Regions from separate parts of the Homo sapiens genome. Here region 1 is linked to region 2. The links are contacts of gene promoters, found by promoter capture Hi-C in human tissues and cell types (Jung and others, 2019). All regions are on one chromosome and are shown on one strand. The core of a region is centred on a gene start or on the middle of the fragment in contact, and the rest is flanking DNA. Distances in the headings are between cores, read along the strand shown.

Region 1 (3,304 bases), core at 789-3,288, 1.0 Mb after region 2:
GAGGTAGCCTCCCAAGGCCATCATCAGACAAGAGCGTTTGGAAGCCCAGAATTCTCCAAGGGCTCATGGCAGTACTGGCACGGGGCCTCTGTTCCTAGACTGCTGCTCCATGACGTTTGTAGATGCCTCTAGTGAAAAGTCAGGGACAGTGGATGATATGCACGGCTCAGAGACCCTGACTCTGGTCCCATCTGTCCCCAGGTGTGACCCCACAAAGCCCCTCCCTCGGCCGCAGCACCGGATTGGGCCGGGTGCCAGGCAGGACGGAGGAGCTGGCCCTTTTGTCAGCCTCTTGCACTTTCTTGCCCAGTTCTACTTCCCAGAGACCTGGATCTCGGATGCTGTCCCCCAGCAGGGCCTGTTTGTGGAGTGGCCTTCAGGCAGGGCTGCATCCAGGGCACCGGGCACAGCATGAGTCACGGTGGGAAGAACCTGGGTCGCAACATCGTAAAGACCTGGGTTTAATTCCCAACTCCATGAATTATGTAACCTCAAGCAGGGCAGGAGGTTTCCTTACTCAGACCTTAGTATTTTCATAAGTGAAATAAAAGAATGCCACGCCTCACCTGTAATCCCAGCACTTTGGGAGATCAAGGCAGGTGGATCACTTGAGGCCAAGAGTTTGAGACCAGACTGGCCAACATGAGGAAACCCTGTCTCTATTAAAAATACAAAAATTTGCTGGGCGTGGTGGCATGTGTCTGTAATTCTAGCTACTCGGGAGGCTGAAGTAGAAGAATCACTTGAACTGGGGAGGTGGAGGTTGCAGTGAGCTGAGATCCCGCCACTGCACTCCAGCCTGGGCAACAGAGACTCTGTTTCAAAAAAAAAAGAGAAAAGAATGCCACATTAGTGCCTGGTACAGGACCTCTATAAAGGGTGGCTGACATTGCTGCTCCTGCTGCCTGCAAGGCACCTGGCATCACCTGGCACATTTTAAAAAGGTCTGCTTACCTCCCCCTGCTCAAGGTCTCTTCCCACTCTTAAGAATTATGTCGCTTTCCATGATGAGTTTGTAAAAATCATTATCCGCACTGCAAGACCTACTCATCCATATTAGCGTGCCACAGCTGGGGCACCCAGGTGTAAAGCTTTGTTTCCCATCATCTTCCTCAGGGACCCTAAATTTTAAAATCTGCATCAGTCACCATTGAGGTGCCACTAAATGTGGTGGCCAAAAGTTCCAAGTTCAAACCATTGCACAGCTGCAAATGCCTTCATAGATGGGTCTCTAAAAAATCAAACACCAGGGCTGGGCACAGTGGCTCACCTCTGTAATCCCAGCACTTTGGGAGGCCAAGATGGGCAGATCACTTGAGGTCAGGAGTTCGAGACCAGCCTGGCCAACATGGTAAAACCCTGTCTCTACTAAAAATACAAAAATTAGCTGGGCGTGGTAGTGGGTGCCTGTAATCCCAGCTACTCGGGAGGCTGAAGCAGGAGAATGGCTTGAACCTGGGAGGCAGAGGCTGCAGTGAGCCGAGATTGTGCCATTGCACTCCAGCCTGGGAAACAGAGTGAGGCTCCATCTCAAAGAAAAAATCAACACCAGAGGTTAATAATCTAGTAACTAACTGTCTTCTATGTGCCACATTTTTGCAAGATCCAAGTTTTAAAGTGAGAACAAGTTGTTCGGTCCCCGCCCAGCTGACTGTGACACCAAGGTGGCGGCCCGCATTGGAGATCTGGTTCCATCTGACTTGGAAAATTTGGGGCACCGTGGGCTGGTGTGAAACAAATTAAAAGAGGTGCCAAACAGCCAGGCACCCAGCAAGGATGCCCAGGGCTCTTGTTCGGGGATTTCGTTAAAAAACTTTTTGGAACCCACCTCAAAGAATGAAAAGTTTCCTATAGGAAGGCAGGAGCGAGCGAGATAATTGAACTCATTGATTTCCTTCACGGCTTGTTTGCCCTTTCATTCTCTTCCCGAGGTGCTATTTGTTGAGGAATGTCTCCAATTGCCAGAAAGACAGTGGGGTGTCTCATATTTCCTCGCCACCTCTCCTTTCAGCCAGTGCTGAGTTCTAAGGCAAGCCTGCAATATGAATTTTTAATGCCGAGCTTTATGGCATCACTCCCGCACAGCCCGACTGCATCACTCTCCTGAGCCTTCAGATTTAATGCTCCAATGAACAGAGCAAAGACTGGGGCATTCAACATCAGTGAGAATTAACCCCCACATGACCACAGCAGTGCCCTCTGATTTTCCTAAAGAGGGTTGGGAAAAAATAAAAATTATGTAGTGTTGGCCGGGTAAGGTGGCTCACACCTGTAACTCCATCACTTTGGGAGGCTGAGATGGGTGGATCACCTGAGGTCAGGAGTTCGAGACCAGTCTGGCCAACATAGCAAAACCCCATCTCTACTAAAAACACAAAAATTAGCTGGGCGTGGTGACGGGAGCTTGTAATCCCAGCTACTTGGGAGGCTGAGGCAGGAGAATCGCTTGAACCCAGGAGGCAGAGGTTGCAGTGAGCTGAAATCACGCCACTGCACTCCAGCCTGGGCAACAGAGCAAGACTCCATCTTATAAAAAAAATTATGTAGTGTTGAGAATCCTTGCTATCCAAATAGCCTGAAGCACAAAAGCACAGCTTATTCTTGAAATTTTATGGAATAGCCTATATTTTGACCTTTTTGCTTCTTCTAAGTTGGACGATGTGTGCTTCGAAGCATTTCTGTGATCTTCCCACCCTTAAAAAAAAAATCTCTGCAGGCTGGGAGTGGTGGCTCACGCCTGTAATCCCAGCACTTTGGGAGACTGTGGTGGGCAGATTGCCTGAGGTCAGGAGTTCAAGACCGGCCTGGCCAACATGATGAAACCCTGTCTCTACTGAAAATACGAAAATTAGCCGGGCGTGGTGGTACACGCCTGTAGTCCCAGCTACTCAGAAAGCTGAGTCAGCGAGATCATGCCACTGCATTTCAGCCTGGTCAACAGAGTGAGACTCCATCTCAAAAAAAAAAAAAAAAAACTCTCCAGTTTGTAGGATTTAATGAATATATAGATGACCGGCTGTTCTGCGGTTTCCGTGGAAAGCCCAAATGTAATTAGAAATCCAATTTCCGATCGATTTTTCCAATGGAAAAAGGACCAGTTGTGTTAAGTGGCTAATTCTTTTTTTATGCAGATGGTTGATTGTCATTTTCTTATAGTAGCTTTCTGAATTTTTGCAGACGTCAAAACTAAGAAAAAGTTGTATATAAAAATTGCTCAATTGGCCAGGTGCAGTGGCTCACGCCTCTAATCCTAACATTTTGGGAGGCCGAGGCAGGAGGGTCGTTTGAGGCCAGGAATTCAAGA
Region 2 (3,714 bases), core at 80-2,579:
GTTCATGTGAGGGATCTAGGTTGCAAGCTCCCTATGAGAATCTAATGCCTGATGATCTGTCACGGTCTCCCATCACCCCTAGATGGGACCATCTAGTTGCAGGAAAACAAGCTCAGGGCTCCCACTGATTCTACACGATGGTGAATTGTGGAATTATTTCATTATATATATTACAATGTAATAATAATAGAAATAAAGCACACAATAAATGTAATGTGCTTGAATCATCCCGAAACCATCCCACCCTGGTCTGTGAAAAAATTGTCTTCCATGAAACCAGTCCCTGGTGCCAAAAACGTTGAGGACCACTGCTCCACAGAATCTATCGGTCACTCTTCCTCCCCTCACCCCCTTGCCCTAAAAGCACACCCTGCAAACCTGCCATGAATTGACACTCTGTTTCTATCCCTTTTCCCCTTGTGTCTGTGTCTGGAGGAAGAGGATAAAGGACAAGCTGCCCCAAGTCCTAGCGGGCAGCTCGAAGAAGTGAAACTTACACGTTGGTCTCCTGTTTCCTTACCAAGCTTTTACCATGGTAACCCCTGGTCCCGTTCAGCCACCACCACCCCACCCAGCACACCTCCAACCTCAGCCAGACAAGGTTGTTGACACAAGAGAGCCCTCAGGGGCACAGAGAGAGTCTGGACACGTGGGGAGTCAGCCGTGTATCATCGGAGGCGGCCGGGCACATGGCAGGGATGAGGGAAAGACCAAGAGTCCTCTGTTGGGCCCAAGTCCTAGACAGACAAAACCTAGACAATCACGTGGCTGGCTGCATGCCCTGTGGCTGTTGGGCTGGGCCCAGGAGGAGGGAGGGGCGCTCTTTCCTGGAGGTGGTCCAGAGCACCGGGTGGACAGCCCTGGGGGAAAACTTCCACGTTTTGATGGAGGTTATCTTTGATAACTCCACAGTGACCTGGTTCGCCAAAGGAAAAGCAGGCAACGTGAGCTGTTTTTTTTTTCTCCAAGCTGAACACTAGGGGTCCTAGGCTTTTTGGGTCACCCGGCATGGCAGACAGTCAACCTGGCAGGACATCCGGGAGAGACAGACACAGGCAGAGGGCAGAAAGGTCAAGGGAGGTTCTCAGGCCAAGGCTATTGGGGTTTGCTCAATTGTTCCTGAATGCTCTTACACACGTACACACACAGAGCAGCACACACACACACACACACATGCCTCAGCAAGTCCCAGAGAGGGAGGTGTCGAGGGGGACCCGCTGGCTGTTCAGACGGACTCCCAGAGCCAGTGAGTGGGTGGGGCTGGAACATGAGTTCATCTATTTCCTGCCCACATCTGGTATAAAAGGAGGCAGTGGCCCACAGAGGAGCACAGCTGTGTTTGGCTGCAGGGCCAAGAGCGCTGTCAAGAAGACCCACACGCCCCCCTCCAGCAGCTGAATTCCTGCAGCTCAGCAGCCGCCGCCAGAGCAGGACGAACCGCCAATCGCAAGGCACCTCTGAGAACTTCAGGTAGGAGAAAAGCAAACTCCCTCCAACCTCTTACTTCGGGCTTAAGGCAGAGAACTCGCCTCCCCAGAATCTCCTCCCTCCATGATCCCCCGCTATTCCTCTATTTTCTTTTCCTCGGACCTGCAGCCTTGGGTCGACCCTGCCCTAGGGGTGACTGCAGGAGAGCAGGGAGGATGGTCAGGCGTCACCAACAACCCCATCACCCAGTAACAAGAACCTTGACTCTCTCAGTCCCTCTGCATCAAGACACTTACCCATTTCCCACCTCATGCCTGCTAACTTGAATGAAACAATCGCTGGGAAAGCATTAAGAGAATTAAGGCTGGGCACTGTGGCTCATGCCTGTAATCCCAGCACTTTGTGAGGCTGAGGCAGGCAGATAACTTGAGCCCAGGAGTTTGAGACCAGCCTGGGCAACATGGCAAAACCCTGCTCTCCCAAAAAAATACAAAAATTAGCTGGGCGTGCTGGTGTGCCTGTATTCCCAGCTACTTGGGAGGCTGAGGTGGGAGGATTGCTTCAGCTGGGGAGGCGGAGGCTGCAGGGAGCCAAGACTGAGCCATTGCACCCAGCCTGGGTGACAGAGCAAGACCCTGTCTCTAAAAATGAATGAAAGGAAGGAAGAAAGAGAGAGAAAGAGAGAGAGGAAAGAAGGAAGGAAGTAAAGAAGAAAGAAAGAAAGAAAGAGGAAAGAGGAAGAAAGAAAGAAAAGAAAGAAAAGAAAAGAAAGCAAATTTAAAGCTTATGCAAATCAAAGATGTTGTGATAATTGATAATTGAGTCTGGGCTAAATTCCCCCTGGGCTGCAAAGGCAGAGAGTGGTAATGACTTCTCACCTGCTTTTCTTCTAAGGCTTTTTTACGGGACACAGAGGGAAGGGAGATGGACTGGATTCCAAGATTCCCACAGGGCAAGATGGGCGAAGACTCCCTGCCACTGCCCGGGGATAAGTCAGTCTGAGTGAGACGGAGTGGGATGGGCTTAGAACCTGAACATGTCATGGTCTCTTCCTGCACCTTGCCCTAGTGTTCACTTACCACCTGCTTGCAGGAAACAAGAAGAGCAGGGCCCACAGCTGGCCAGCTCCCCTCCCCTCCCGCCTGTCTTCCAGAACGATTCCTTCACCAGCCCTCTTTCCATTGCTCTAGGATGCAGATGTCTCCAGCCCTCACCTGCCTAGTCCTGGGCCTGGCCCTTGTCTTTGGTGAAGGGTCTGCTGTGCACCATCCCCCATCCTACGTGGCCCACCTGGCCTCAGACTTCGGGGTGAGGGTGTTTCAGCAGGTGGCGCAGGCCTCCAAGGACCGCAACGTGGTTTTCTCACCCTATGGGGTGGCCTCGGTGTTGGCCATGCTCCAGCTGACAACAGGAGGAGAAACCCAGCAGCAGATTCAAGCAGCTATGGGATTCAAGATTGATGGTGAGCCACGGGACACCAGGGGAGGTGGGTGGCATGCAGAACAGACCTACCAGAAGCCAAGGAAAGGCTGGCTCTGGCTTAGCCGAGCCAAGCCCCATACAGCTGTGCTGCAGGGGCCACCCCATCTTCTTCCCACTACACTCCAAGTCACTGGACCCTTGAATCTCCAAGGGTGTCTGACCAGTAGATTTACCGCTTATTCACCACCGTGTGATCTTAACCTCGTTAAGTTTGCCCATCTACAAAATGAGGATTATTTGCTGTCCTAAAGAATTCATGAGCCGGGCGCGGTGGCTCAAACGCCTGTAATCCCAGCACTTTGGGAGGCCAAGGCGGGCGGATCATGAGGTCAGGAGATCAAGACCATCCTGGCTAACACAGTGAAACTCCATCTCTACTAAAAATACAAAAAAAATTAGCCAGGCGTGGTGGCAGGCGCCTGTAGTCCCAGCTACTCGGGAGGCTGAGGCAGGAGAATGGCATGAACCCAGGAGGCAGAGCTTGCAGTGAGCTGAGATCGTGCCACTGCACTCCAGCCTGGGCGACAGAGAGAGACTCCGTCTCAAAAAAAAAAAATAAAAGAATTCATGGAATTACACTTGTGAAATACTTAGCATAGCCATCACTATAGGAAAAAAATCTAAGGCCAGGCACAGTGCCTCATGCCTGTAATCTCAGCACTTTCGGAGTTTGAGGCAGGAGGATCACCCAAGGCTAGGAGTTCAAGGCCAGCCTGGGCAATACGGTGAAACCCCGTCTCTAATAAAAATATAAAAATTAGTCTGATGAGGTGGTGCACCTGTAATCCCAGCTACTCAGGAAGC

Evidence for each region. The method cuts DNA at HindIII sites, captures the fragments that hold promoters and counts their contacts. A contact is called where the count stands out against the background at its distance.
Region 1: a contact is called between a fragment that was not itself captured here and the fragment with the promoter of SERPINE1 in region 2, in 1 of the 25 tissues and cell types used here (mesenchymal stem cells).

The regions. Positions count from the first base shown.
Region 1 is chr7:102,128,152-102,131,455 of GRCh38, forward strand. All of the region lies in intron 8 of CUX1 (cut like homeobox 1), which reads left to right. Among named protein-coding and RNA genes, the nearest start is that of SH2B2, 160 kb to the right of the region's middle. The HindIII fragment of the contact is 4,034 bases long and covers 22-3,304 here.
Region 2 is chr7:101,125,775-101,129,488 of GRCh38, forward strand. It overlaps SERPINE1 (serpin family E member 1), which reads left to right and starts at 1,330. Exons shown (of 9, transcript NM_000602.5): 1 at 1,330-1,470; 2 at 2,619-2,890. The coding sequence starts at 2,620. RefSeq lists enhancers at 206-985, 1,766-2,545, 2,546-3,325. The HindIII fragment of the contact is 16,005 bases long and covers 1-3,714 here.